Linked DNA regions of Homo sapiens: all the other regions are linked to region 1. Evidence: promoter capture Hi-C in human tissues and cell types (Jung and others, 2019). All regions are on one chromosome and are shown on one strand. Each heading gives the region's core, a stretch centred on a gene start or on the middle of the fragment in contact. The rest is flanking DNA. Distances are from core to core; before and after follow the strand shown. Region 1 holds the start of SLC2A11 (solute carrier family 2 member 11). Region 2 holds the start of BCR (BCR activator of RhoGEF and GTPase). Region 3 overlaps BCR (BCR activator of RhoGEF and GTPase).

Region 1 (4,566 bases), core at 1,096-3,595:
CAAACTCCTGAGCTCAAGCGATACACTCGCCTTGGCCTCCCAAAGTGGTAGGATTACAGGCGTGAGCCACCATACCCAGCCCACTCTTTTGTGATTTTTAATTACAAAATGACACGTTTGTTAAGATTTTTGAAAATTCAGTATATACTGAAAGTTCTCCACTCCTCCAAAGGCACAACAATTAACTCCTTCCCTCAGGTATTTTCCTAGATATTTGCAAAGTAGTTGACTTTACAAAAATTGAATCGTTGATATCTTCCCCCAAAAAATACTGCCTTTCTTGTTCTGGCAAATTGTTCTGTAGAATTAAATGTATTATTTTTGAAAACTTTGATACAATTTTCATGACAGAAGGATGTTTGGCTAAGGTTTTCTGAAGTTTCCAGAACCTACGGACTATTTATTCATTTATTAGTCAAATACTGAGTGTTGGCCGGATGTCGTGGCCCACACCTGCAATCCCTGCACTTTGGGAGGCCGAGGTGGGCAGACCACTTGAGGTCAGGAGTTCGAGACCAGCCTGGCCAACATGGTAAAACCCTGTCTCTACTAAAAATACAAAAATTAGCCGGGCTTGGTGGTGGGCACCTGTAATCCCAGCTACTCAGAAGGCTGAGGCAGAATTGCTTGAATCCGGGAGGGAGGCGGAGGTTGCAGTAAGCCCAGATCGCGCCACTGCCCTCCTGCCTGGGCAACAGAGTGAGACTCCATCTCAAAAAAAAAAAAATGCTGAATGTTTATCTCAGCCAGGAAGTGTGCTGGGGGGCAAGATACAGCTGGGAAAGAGACAGCTGTGCTTTCACCATTCAGTGAGATACTGCACTGGAGGCTGGGGGAGCAGAGGAAGTGGCTCTGGAGGGCAGAATCCTGCTGAAGGCCTTGCCATAGGTCTGGAGACAGGTTGGTGACAGGGGCCCTGGCTGCCCATAGTTCCAATAAGGCCTAAGTAACTTTCTCTAAGGCTGGAAGCCTTAGGAAGAAGCCAGGTGAGAAACCTGGCATCTGGTCCCATTGAGGCCAAATTACAGCTCCACGGGGGCCGCATGGAAGTGAGAGCTCCCTTAAGACAGCAGATGTGAAGGAAGCAGCGAACACAGTGCTTGATGGCAGCTGAGCTCATGTAGCAGGAGATATTGACAGGTCTCTAAGACTACAGGAAATCGTTGAATTCAATGAGATCATGCATGGAGATTGCCTATACCGTGCCTGGTCATGGTAAGCATTCAGACATTAGCTACGATAGGGACCATTAATTCAGCAAACAAAGATTTATTGCCTCCCTATTATGGTCAATAATCCTACTGTTCTAGGTGTTGGGATACAGCAGTGAACAACAGACAAAATCCATGAGCTGTCAGAGCTTTCCTTCCAGCAGAGAAAGACAAGCAATCGCAAAATGAACAAGCAAAATATATAGTACATCAGCTGGTGCTACAGAGACTTAAAGCAGTGAAGGGGCGTAGGAAGTGTTTGGACCAGGTGGTGCTATTTTATTTTATTTTATTTTATTTTTATTTTTTAGAGACAAGGTCTCGCTACGTCGCCCACGCTGGAGTGCAGTGGTGAGATCCTATTAGATCCCTGCAGCTTCGAACTCCTGGGCGATCCTCCCACCTTAGTTGGTGCTATTTTAAATAAGGCTGTCAAGGAATACAAGTGCAAATCAAGACAAAGGAGGTGAGGGAATGTGCCATGCAAATACCTAAAGAAATCAGTCCAGATTGGGAAGGAACCCCTAGAAGCGGTGGGCAGTGCAGTGCGGGCGCTCTCCTCTGGCTGCGCCCTTTCCCTCTGTGAGGCAGGACGTCAGGTCAGAGCTGAGGGAGCATGAGGAGGAAAGAGGCGGGGGTGGGAAACAGTCTCGGGAGGGGGCGAGCAGTCAGGATTGCAGCGCTCGGAGGGCTTACTGCCTCTGAGGTCAGGGCTGATCGGCAGAGGATTTAGCATCTCTGGGGGCTGGGATGCCAGGGTCCAGCAACCTTGCTCTGGCCCACAGGCCGACCCTGGGCGTAAACACCTGCCTATGCACATCTGAGCCTAGCACCTAACGCCACTGTACATACAAGCACGATATTTTTGAACATTTGACGACTTAGTTAAGCCTCCCAGGTGGCTGCACCTGCGCAGTTCACTCAGGTCCGCAATCCCTCATCTGAAACGCCTGGTCTGGGCAAGTATGAGAATTCATACCATTCTAGATCGCAGGAGGGCGTGGAGCATTCGAAAGAGGGGCCTGAGCGGAGGTCTTGCTGTCCCAGGGAGACCCCGGCTGCCATTAGCAAGCGGTGAGCCGGCAGCCTGTGCGCGGAGGGAAGGGCAGCGCGCAGCGCCCAGTGGTGAAAGAGGCGCTAGCGCACGCGCAGTGAGCGTTTGAGAGGAGCAAACCCGTCGAGACGAAGCTGTAGCGCAAGCGCAGTGGGTATTGAGAGCGGCCGCACCAGCTGAGGGTTCGCGCAACGCTAAACGATGGCCGGGACTAAGGCCTGAGACTCAAGCTCAGGCGCAGTGAAGCGCAGAGCCGCTAGAGTGTCGCGGAGGGCGCCTGAGGCGCATGCGCGGACTCAGCGTTTTTAAGAAGGGCTGGGGGTGCTGGGGAGTTCGCCCCAGCGTGTTGGGGGGGAGTCGCCGCCGCGGGGGGGGGGTTTGGGGTCACCGCCGCGGGGTTTGTCGCCGCCGCTGGGAGCTCACCTGCGTCCGAGGCCGTAAGGACGGCTCCAGTTCATCCTCCATCCGCCTCTGCCGCAGCACTGAGGCTGAAAAGCCGCTCACTCCTTACTCGGCTAAGCCCCAAGCTCATCTCTGCAGGCCGGAAGGGAGCTCTGGTCCAAGGTCATCTCGGCCAAGCCCCTGCATTCGCCCTCGCAAGTGCCAGCAAGCGACTCTGGTCGCCGCGCTCCCAAGTCCTCCCCCGAAATTCCGGCTCTGGCCCCTCGTCCCCCTCCTTTGCTACAGTCTCTGGACTAAATGTCTGCGGGTCTCTGTCTCTCGCTGGTCTGACCTCAGCCGCAACCCTGCGCGATTCCCTGCGCCGGTCGCCACTGCCGGCCGCCAGAACCTCGGAGGCCACTGCCCCTGGGCGTTCTCCGGAGGGCCAAGCCCTTGGTTGTGCACATCTATGCACGCCCCACCTACACCCCCCCCCCCCCACACACACACACTTTGGTTCAGGTATCCCCGACCTTTCCCCAGAGGACGGGAAAATTAGGAAAGACCGAAAGATAGACCCACCAGTCTTCGGAGCGCTCTCATCTGTGCGTCCTGGGCAGAGCGAGAGACTTGGCGGAATGCGGGTAGGAGAACCGGTCTCGGGTTGCCGCCAGGGGATCCATTGCGTGAGAGGCAGGTCCGACTTATGCTGGGGGCACTTGGAGTTGAGGAACCACAGAGTCCACTGAACCGGATTAATCTTTTATCCCTCAGGGCTTCTCAGGCCCTGCATGGAGGAATCCAGGAGCTGGACAAAGACCAACTGAAACTAGACTTGCCAAAGATGCTATTTGTGGTCACAGAAACATAGAGCTGGACATGACCTTAAGAAGTCACCTGAGCAGACACTGTGATGGGCACTGTAGTAGCTCTATTGCTCAGACTTGGTTTTTGTTTGACTTTTGCTGCTCTGAACTTTAATTCCTAAAAACACTGCATTTTTAAGGAAAAACACAAAATATTAGCAGTTATAATAAATAGGTATTTTATTGCATGCTTTTCGTGCATCTATTAAGATGATCATATGGGTATTCTCCTTTAATCTGTTAATGAGATCAGTTACATCAATAAACTTTCTAATGGTAAACCATTCTTGAATTCTTGGGGTAGACGCAACTTGGTCATAATATTATTGTTATTAATACATTGTTAGTTTCAACTGCTGATATTTTATTTTGATAGGTTAATTTTTTTCTTTTTTTTTTTTAATTTATTTATTTTTTTTTTATTGATCATTCTTGGGTGTTTCTCGCAGAGGGGGATTTGGCAGGGTCATAGGACAATAGTGGAGGGAAGGTCAGCAGATAAACAAGTGAACAAAGGTCTCTGGTTTTCCTAGGCAGAGGACCCTGCGGCCTTGGCCTTCCGCAGTGTTTGTGTCCCTGGGTACTTAAGATTAGGGAGTGGTGATGACTCTTAACGAGCATGCTGCCTTCAAGCATCTGTTTAACAAAGCACATCTTGCACCGCCCTTAATCCATTTAACCCTGAGTGGACACAGCACATGTTTCAGAGAGCACAGGGTTGGGGATAAGGTCACAGATCAACAGGATCCCAAGGCAGAAGAATTTTTCTTAGTACAGAACAAAATGAAAAGTCTCCCATGTCTACTTCTATCCACAGAGACCCGGCAACCATCCGATTTCTCAATTTTTTCCCCACCCTTCCCGCCTTTCTATTCCACAAAACCGCCATTGTCATCATGGCCCATCCCCAATGAGCCGCTGGGCACACCTCCCAGACGGGGTCGTGGCCGGGCAGAGGGGCTCCTCACTTCCCAGTAGGGGCGGCCGGGCAGAAGCGCCCCTCACCTCCCGGATGGGGCGGCTGGCCGGGCGGGGGGCTGACCCCCCCACCACC
Region 2 (4,566 bases), core at 908-3,407, 680 kb after region 1:
ACATAAATCAGTCCCTGCTAACAGCATCCGATGTGGGCGCTAGAGATGACTCCGGCTTTTATGCCATCCTCACTGCCCGGCATGGAGAGAGCACATAGCAAGGAGGTTACTGCCTGAAGCATCTTCCTTCAACTCACAAGCTGTACTTCACAAACACATTGCTCTAGAACCAAAGGAACAAACCACCTCCCATCCCTCACAAGACCATCCTCAACCCAATTCCATTCCAAACACTAACAGTATGCATTCAGGAAGGAGGAGGGGATGGAGTTTGTTCGGGTGCAGGATCCGCGTGAACCACAAGTGCACCTGATACACTCAAAACTATCCACTCCTCCCTCCCAACTTCTGTTTTGTATCCCCTACTCGTCTATGGTTTTCCTCCCCCGTGCAGGTGTGCCCACGCACGTGGCGTGAGGAACTCACCTGCGTCTCCATGGAAGGCGCCCTCGCCATCGTTGGGCCAGATCTGCCCGGTCTTGCGGACGCCCACGATGGTGGCCTCGGACACGACAACCGGGCAGTGCCGGTGCCGCTTATGGCACTGCGGCGTGGGGGGACTGCTGCTGTCGAAGGACTGTTGCGAGTTCTGCGAGGGAGAGCGGCTTTTGTCCCGGAACATGCGGTAGGTGGTGGGGCTTGGGGACACGCGGCTGGACTGGCCAGAGGAGAAGTCCTCCTCGCTGGAGGTGAGGTTCTCATTGGAGCTGCAGTCCGGGGTATAGCCGCCTCCGCAATCCTCAAAACTCCGGGGGGAGTAGGACCTGCGGGGCCAGGTAAGGCGCTTCTCCTGCTCAGAGGTGCTCTGGCTGCGCAGGAGCGGGCCCTTGCCCTCCCCTTCCATCATGCCCCCGACGTAGATGCTCTGGTAGGGCTGGTACTCCAGGGGCGGCCAAGGGGGCCTGCTACCGCCATTGGCGTCGATCAGGTTGTCCTTCAGGAAGCGGGGGTTCAACTCGGCGTCCTCGTAGTCGCCGTCGACGCCGCAGCTGCTCTCCGAGGAGCGTCCCCGGTAAGGGGGCCTGGATGCATCCCCCACGCTCGAGCCCGCGCCGTGCTGGGACTTTTTGCGCTCCATCTGCATGGCCTGGCTGCCCAGGGAGCTGATGCGGTCCGACACCTCTTTGTCGTTGACCTTCACCAGGCCGCGCTCGTGGTGAAACTCGACGTTCACGTAGAAGGGCTTCTCGGCGTCCGCCCCGGGCTGGCCATGGCCCTTGCGGATCCGCTCGAAGTTGGACCTGAGCGCCGCCACGCTGGCGGGGGGTCCCCGGTCGTCCCGTTCCCCCGACGCGGCTGCCCCGGGCCTGCGGGCGGTCCCGGGCCTGGCCTTACCCGGAGAACCCTCGCCGTCGGGCCGGGCCTCGGGCTCCTCGGCGGGCGGCGGGTCGGCTCCGTCGGCGGGCGCTGGCTGCGGGCGCGACGCGGACGCTCGGGGCTCGGAGGCGCCGTCGGGGGCCTGCGCCGCGCGCCGGAAGCCCCATCGCTGCCGGTCATAGCTCTTCTTTTCCTTGGCCAGCAACGTCTGCAGGTAGATCATGCGGAAGCGCTCCTGGTTCACCTCCTGCTCCAGGCGCCGAATGGAGGCCTTGCAGCGCTCCAGCTCCTGCTCGATGTCGCCCACTGAGCGCAGCTCCATGCGCGGGGGCTCTGAGTCCGGGAACTGCGCCTTCCACGCCTCCGCGAAGCCCACCGGGTCCACCATGGCGCGGCCGGCCTTACCTGCGCCGCCGGGCTGCGCGCGGGGCCCGTCTCAGCGGCGGCGCGGCGCCTCGCCAGCCCGGCCCCGGGCGCCGGGCGGCCCCCATGGCCCGCGCGGCGGCGGCGGCGGCGAACAATGCCCGCCCACTCCCTGGTGGCAGGTGAGGCGGAGCGGGGCGCTCGGCGCGCGGGGCGGGGCGCGCCGGGGGGAAGGGCGCGGGCTGCGCGCGCCGCTATTGTGTGCGGGGCTCCTCCGCACGGCGAGGCGCGGGCGCTGCTCTCCGCTCCGCCAGGCCGCCGCCAGACTCTGGCCACGGCCCGCGCGCTCCTCGCCTCTCGCTTCCGCACCGCCCCACAGCCCCGCCGCCGCCGTGCCGCCGCCGCCGCCGCCGCCTCCTCGGACGCTAAGCTCAGCCAGCCGGCTCTCGCCGCACTCCCGCCCGGCCCGCACTCTGCGCCGCAGGAAGGGGAGGGCCGGGGGGAGGTGGCCGCGGCGCGGATGACGGAGCCAGGCGGGCCTCTTAAAGGGGCCGCGCCGTGGGCACAGGGCGGGGGGGCCCCCTGGAGGCGGCTCCCCCATCGAGCCGCCACCCTCCCCCCGTCCCTGTGCCTTTTGGGAAACTGAGGCCCTAACAACAGCGAATTGGACTGTGCAACTCGCAGCCCAGGGGTCCCCCGTAAAAAAGACACCGGACTCCCTGGTCCATAAAGACCTTTCCAATACAGAGGTCTGGGCCAGTTCTGCAGTCCTGGAACAGGAACACTTGGCTCCCCTCCGGCCAGGAGGACTTCTCCGGCCAGTCCAGCCGCGTGTCCCCAAGCCCCACCACCTACCTCATGTTCCGGGACAAGAGCTGCTCTCTCTGGCAGAACTCGCAGCAGTCCTCCGACAGAAGCAACCTCCCCCCTCTGCCCCTACCACGCCGCAGTGCCATAAGCGTCACCGGCACTGCCCAGTCGTCGTGTCAGAGGCCACCATCGTGGGCATCTGCAAGACCAGGCAGATCTGGCCCAACGATGCGGAGGGCACCTTCCATGGAGACGCAGGTAAGTTCCTCACACCTCACAGCCTGGCCTCTCACCAGCCTCAGGGCTGGGCACACTAGGGACCACCCAGCAGGGCCCAACTCACAGAGAGGCCAGGACCAGGCAGGTCACCCCGCAAGGCAGGGAGGGCCAGGCTGAGTAACCAATGCCAGCACCCTTGTTTCAGCGGGCCTCTCACGTTGTGGATCTGCTGTGGGTGGCTGCCACACGGGTTTGTCACAGCAGGACCACATGATGGATGATAAATAGGGATTTCTCCCTCAGGTCACTCAATACCCACACCTGCCTTCCTGTGTGCTGAGCCATGTGTTTGTCCCCTGGCCTCTCTTGAGCTCCAGAGGTCAATGTAGTTTTTCCAGGACGACCTGACTCAGAACTTCCCTGATTAGCCTCCCTCTAAGGGGGCGGCCAACCTGCACTGAGGTTCACAGGGCTGGGTGGAAGACAGCCCAGAGCAGGGAGTGAAACAAAACCTTTGATGGTTCTCTGGGGACACAGAGATCTGAGACACAGTGGAGAGCACTCTGCAGGGACTCTGATGGGCACAAACTGAAAATACCCAAACCAGCCCGCTGGGTTGGGGGAAAAGGAAACAGGATTTGGCAAATGAATTACTGGGCTTGAGTCCTGACCACCTCTCCCTCTCTGCCTCAGTTTCCTTGAAGTGAGAAGCACATCTGCCTCCAAGTGCTGTTGTCCCTGTGTGGATGTTAGGGATTATCATGCCCTCCTCCCAATGCCAGCGTCATCTGGAGCAGATACTTTGAAGTCCAATCTAAAGGACTGAGCCCAGGCTAGTAGCCAGGCCAGCCCTGCTTGGGTTCAGGGCTTCCTGCCGACTCCTGGCTGTGTGACCTCAGCAGTGTCTCTCTCAGCCTCTCTGAGCCTCAGTTTTGTCATCTGTTCTTCATGTGCCCAATCCTGCTTCCTTTTCCCCTGACCCGGCAGGCTGGTTTGGGTATTTTAATTTTGTGCTCATCAGACTCCCTGCTCTTTGCCCTGTCTCAGATTTCCAGGCTTCCCTAGAGAACCATCAAAGATTTTGTTTCACTCCCTGCTCTGAGCTGTCCTGTCTTCCACCCAGTCCTGTGGGCCACGGTACAAAATGTTGAGAGCATCCTGCATAAAATGCCCAGATGGGGCAAACATAAAACACAACCTGATAAATGGTGTGTAGGGGTCGATTTCGTGATTGCCTGTTAATATTAGTGCCCCTGGAGAACATTCCTGCCCTGGAAAACCCATGGGCCCCAGTTTCTAGGCTGGGTGGGCGGTGCGCAGCTCACTGCTGCCCTCTGCAGGCCTTGCTAACCTCCTGCCATCCTGGTCCCTTGGACCCAGCGGACCTTCTCATCCCCTTCCCATCAGGCTGCAAATAGCCCATTTTGCATGTGAGGAAACTGAGATGCAAATGATGCCCTGGCCACTAAAGGGGCTGGAATCCCAGTAGTGCCATACTGAGCAGTGCTCTCATCCTCAGTGGCCTATTTTTTTTTTTTTTTGAGACGGAGTCTCACACTGTTGCCCAGGCTGGAGTGCAGTGGAGTGATCTCTGCTCACCGCAACCTCTGCCTCCTGGGTTCAAGTGATTCTGCTGCCTCAGCCTCCCAAGTAGCTGGAATTACAGGCGCCTGCCATCACGCCCAGCTAGTTTTTTGTATTTTTAGTAGAGACGGGGTTTCACTGTGTTGGCCAGGCTGGTCTTGAACTCCTGACCTCGTGATCTGCCCGCCTTGGCCTCCTGTAGTGCTGGAATTACAGGTGTGAGCCACTGCACCCAGCCCTCAATGGCCTCTTCTTTAAAATGGGTATGATAAA
Region 3 (4,566 bases), core at 1,463-3,962, 650 kb after region 1:
GCCCTGGGAAGCAGCAGGAAACAGGGAAGAGAAAGGGAAGTTAGAAACCAAGTGACCATCTCTCATCCAGCTTTTCCTCCTCCGGCAACTTCTCTGAGGAAAGAATCCTCATGGGGTTTGGAAGACTACCCTACCTGCCTCACAGGTTCTATAGGAGAGAAGCTCCTGTGAGCTCCTGAGCACAGATGTGAGACGCCCACACCTGGCTCTGTCATCGATTGCATCACCACCAGGCATTTGGAGGCAGCTCGCTGTGAAACACAGGTTGGCAAACTGCAGCCCACAGGCCAAATCCAGCCCACTGCCACCTGTTTTCATGTGACCTAGGCCTTAAGAATGCTCTTTATAGTTTCACATGCTCACATTCCAAATGGTTATGTAAGTATCCACAAAGTAGCATCGATTTTGCCTCTCAGCCACAAACATAAAATTAGTTACTATCTGGTCATTTAAGGAAAGTTCAGCCAATCCCAATACTGTAGAGTAAAGTAAAAAAAAAAAAAAAAAAATTATTGGTTCAAATCTTGGCTCTGCTGCCTGAGCTTCTGATCCTGCCTAGGCTTTGGCTGTCTGAGTATCCCCTTGGCGAGCAGCAACCACCAGCTCCTTGCAGAAATAGAGCAAGGCTCGGATCCTGGACGCTGAATGGGATCCCCTTACAAAGCACAAAGCCAAACCCAAGTGCAAAGTTCCAGTAAAGGGAGGGATCCTGTCTCTCCTGCAAGCCTTCCAGAGAGGGAACACCGGCAGATCCGTGAGAGGAGGAGAAGGAGGGTCTTCAGGAGTCAAAGTGCACCTTGAGACAGGCCCACCAAATGCAATATTCTGAAGGAAAGCGTGGCTTCCACTGAGGCATCTGTACCCCCACAGGAGTGACAACGTTCAGTGCCGGTATCCTTCCTGTCCTTATGCCCTCCAGACTGACCAGCCCATCTCCAGCACCGGCCAGCTCAGTACCAAGACAGCCCCTACTCCAACTGGCACTAAGAATGCTCAGGAAAGACTAACAGGCTTTCCCTGCAGGAAGGATACCTTGCCTTCTGATCCCAGGTGGGGCCTGCAAAAGGCTGGGAGGCTGTTGGGGAATTGGTCATCTGTAACAAAGGTAAATTATGGCCTCAAAGTACCTAATGTGCTCCTCCCACTATAGCACAGAAATAGGGGTGGCCACACACGCATGCCTGCTCATCTCAGTGCTGGCCTCAGCACATGCATTCCTGACCAAGCGGGGCTGTGCTCTGGCTGGCAAGACACCAGCTGGCACTACCAGGCCTCCTGCTGCCAACCACCTGCTTGCACATCATCACCTCCGCCCTGGCAGACACCCCCATGCTGCCGTCTCCCCCATCCACGCGGACGGCAGGGCCTCCCGCTGCCCACGCTCTGCACTTTGGCACGTTGCCCCAGATGAAACCTGCACGGCCTCTGAAATCTGTTCCAGTCCTGGTGGTGACCTGTAGACTGGCCAGTGGGCAGTAAGGGAGGACAACAAATCAGCCAGCAAAGCAGTGTCCTGGTTCCCATTAAGGGTGCACACAGAGGCCAATCCACCCCAATCCACATTACTGCAGGAAGCCAGACACAACCAGGATCCTACAGGAAGGCTGCTTTGGGACATCCACCAAGAGGGATTTCCAAATAATTTGCTGGGAACTCAGAGCAACATGACTTAATTTTATTTAGAATCACAAAACTAACGGATCTTAAAATAATTTTCTGGGAACTCAGAGCAACATGACTTAATTTTATTTAGAATCACAAAACTAACGGATCTTAAAAATGCTGCCATTCAGCTTCATCATTTACGGACAGGAATTCAGAGGCCCAAGGAGTCTACGTGATTCACTGGAGTCAGAGTGGCGGCCAAGGGCACAGCTAAGATGGGCAACGCAGAGCAAGAGGAGGAGCAAGCGTGGGTCCCAGCTCCATAATCCATGAGCTGGGATGGCTAAAACTGAACTGCTGGCTCCTAGTTGTGAGCGCTGGAAAATAAGACGGAACACCCTCCACGGTGCAGGACGACTAGTCAGTGCTGAAGAAGGGGCCATTCCTCTCCTTTCCTCCCCAAGCCCATGACACCATGCTGCCCTCCCTCCAAACGTGGTCTCACCATTATCTGCCCTCCTTCCAGCCAAGACCATCTGAACCCACTGCCTGCACAGGGAGGTGTTTGTCCTCCCGTCCCAGCCCAGCTTCTGCCAGCCAAGTGCAGCCATGCAAGTCCCTTTCCCTTTGTAGAAATCCTTTTCTGCCATGGCCTTCTGCTTCCTTGGAGCTTCAATGAAAGCCAAGCAGGAACTCCATGAGCCAGAATTAACTGGACAATGCTATCTGGCAGACCTAACTCACGATGCACAGAAGAGAAGCCAAAATGCTTTTCAGATTCAGTTACAAGTAGCCCACAACAGCAATAAACTAGCAAACTTCACAACAGACAAGGGGACAGTAAGTTCTTTCCCTACCAAGAACCACAGCGCTGACAAAGAACTGAGTGTCACACAGCCAGTGGCCTCAGGAAACTTCCTGAATGAGAGAGTGGACCAGTGTGACCCCAGCTCAGGGCTCCTCCCTATCAAAGCTGGACTGTTTCGAGGGTCATCAAGGAATCGGGAATTACCGTGGAGCCCAGTCTAGCACAGACTCCTCTGACCCAAAGCAAACCTTAATCTCAGATTCTGCTTCTCTGGAATGAAAATCCCACATCACAATTTTGGATTTTTGGAGGGTAAGGCCCCACACAGCTCAGACGTTTTAGCACCTGATGGAACTGCTTCAGTACAATCCTGTGAACAGAAGGAGGCAAGAAAAAAGTCAAAAAAGAGCAGGCAGTTAACCATAAAGCCAAGGGTAAACTGGGGCAGGATTTCTGGAAGGTGACCTGGCAGCAGCCATCAAGGGTCTTAAGACCATCCACCTCTCTGACCTGGTAAATCCAGTGACAGAGGCCCACCCCATCATGGGCAGAAACTCATATAAAAAGGTATTCACTTGGCCAAGTATGGTGGCTCACACCTGTAATCCCAGCACTTCAGGAGAAGCCAAGGCGGGCAGATCATTTGAGCCCAGGAGTTTAAGACCAGCCTGGGCAACACAGCAAGACCCTGTCTCTACAAAAAGAAAAAAAACGACAGATGAGTGTAGTGATGTGCATCTGTAGTCCCAGCTACTCAGGAGGCTGAGGTGGGAGGATCACAGGAGGTCAAGGCTGCAGTGAGCTCTTACTGCACCAGTGCAGATGCAGAGTGAGATGGCAGAGCGAGATCCTGTTTCAAAAACAAACAAAAAAAAAACCCCACAAAAAAATTCACTGAATGTAATTAATGCCACTGAACTGTACATTTAAAAATGGTTAAAATGACCCAAGTGCCCATCAATGAATGATAGATTAAATATATATATATATACACACACACACACACACACACACACAAACAATTGAATTATTACTCAAGCTTAAAAAGGAAGGGGTTCTGAAACACAGTAAAACACAGATGAACTTTGAGGACATGATGTGAAATAAGTCACAAAAAGACAAATACTGCATGATTCCACTTAAATAAAGTTTCTAGAGTCGTCAGATTCCTAGAGATAGAAAGTAGAATGGTGGTTACAGGGACTGGGCGTGGGGGAAGAAGCACTGTTCTTTAATGGGTGGAAATGAGTACAGATTTTCAGTTTTGCAAGGTGGAAAGAGTTCTGGAGATGGATGATAGTGATGGGTGCATGACAGGAATATACTTAACACCATTTAGCTGTGCGGCTAAAAATGGTAAATTTTATGTTATTTTACCATAATTTTAATTTTTAGTGGTTAAAATGTCAAATTTGTATATATATTTCACCATAATTTTTAAAAAGTAATAATGTAATATACCAAAACCCATTAAATTGGCTGCTTTAAAGGGTTGAATTGTATGGTACATGAATTACCTCAGTGAAGCTATTTAAAAAAAGAGAGAGAAGTTCACTGAAACATTATACTAACCAGCTGCATAAAGAACCACTCGAAATGTCCAACAAAAATTCATTAAAATTAGATAAATTAAACCATAACTCCACTACAAAGTAATAATATGGCCCTTAAAAATAATATTTACACAAGATTTACTAATACATGGAAACGTTCACATTAACTAAGGCCGGACACCCAACTACACAGCAACATCTTAACTATATAAAAAAGATTTACACATAATTATCTCAAAAGTTGGCAAGAAAATTAAACCTTCCTCATACTGCACAGGAACCTTCCCCATGACTCTTCATCTGCTCCCCTCTTGAGATGCCAGCCTTTCAAAACCTGCAGCCAATGTCCACGGACTCCCAGAAACCGAAGGGTCTGAACCCTGAGGGCTAGAGTCAAGTCACCCAGGGAGCTTTTCAAAAAACCCAGACTTGGCCGGGCGCGGTGGCTCACACCTGTAATCCCAGCACTTTGGGAGGCCGAGGAGGGCGGATCACAAGGTCAGGAGATCGAGACCATCCTGGCTAACATGGTGAAACCACCTCTACTAAAAATACAAAAAATTAGCCGGGCATGGTGGTGGGTGCCTGTAGTCCCAGCTA

What was found. Contacts are between HindIII fragments. The study calls those that stand out against the background at their distance.
Region 2: a contact is called between the fragment with the promoter of BCR here and the fragment with the promoter of SLC2A11 in region 1, in 1 of the 25 tissues and cell types used here (adrenal gland).
Region 3: a fragment that was not itself captured here is called in contact with the fragment with the promoter of SLC2A11 in region 1 in 1 of the 25 tissues and cell types used here (dorsolateral prefrontal cortex).

What each region holds. Positions count from the first base shown.
Region 1 is chr22:23,855,654-23,860,219 of GRCh38, reverse strand. It overlaps SLC2A11 (solute carrier family 2 member 11), which reads right to left and starts at 2,345. Exons shown (of 12, transcript NM_001024939.4): 1 at 2,191-2,345. The coding sequence starts at 2,220. The HindIII fragment of the contact is 17,543 bases long and covers 1-4,566 here.
Region 2 is chr22:23,178,100-23,182,665 of GRCh38, reverse strand. BCR (BCR activator of RhoGEF and GTPase) reads right to left here and starts at 2,157. Exons shown (of 23, transcript NM_004327.4): 1 at 427-2,157. The coding sequence starts at 1,705. It also overlaps a transcript of RSPH14 not described here and the pseudogene BCRP8. RefSeq lists silencers at 1,627-1,706, 1,727-1,996, 2,067-2,306 and an enhancer at 2,427-3,237. The HindIII fragment of the contact is 16,176 bases long and covers 1-4,566 here.
Region 3 is chr22:23,201,586-23,206,151 of GRCh38, reverse strand. The region is part of intron 1 of BCR (BCR activator of RhoGEF and GTPase); the gene reads right to left. Among named protein-coding and RNA genes, the nearest start is that of BCR, 23 kb to the right of the region's middle. The HindIII fragment of the contact is 4,691 bases long and covers 367-4,566 here.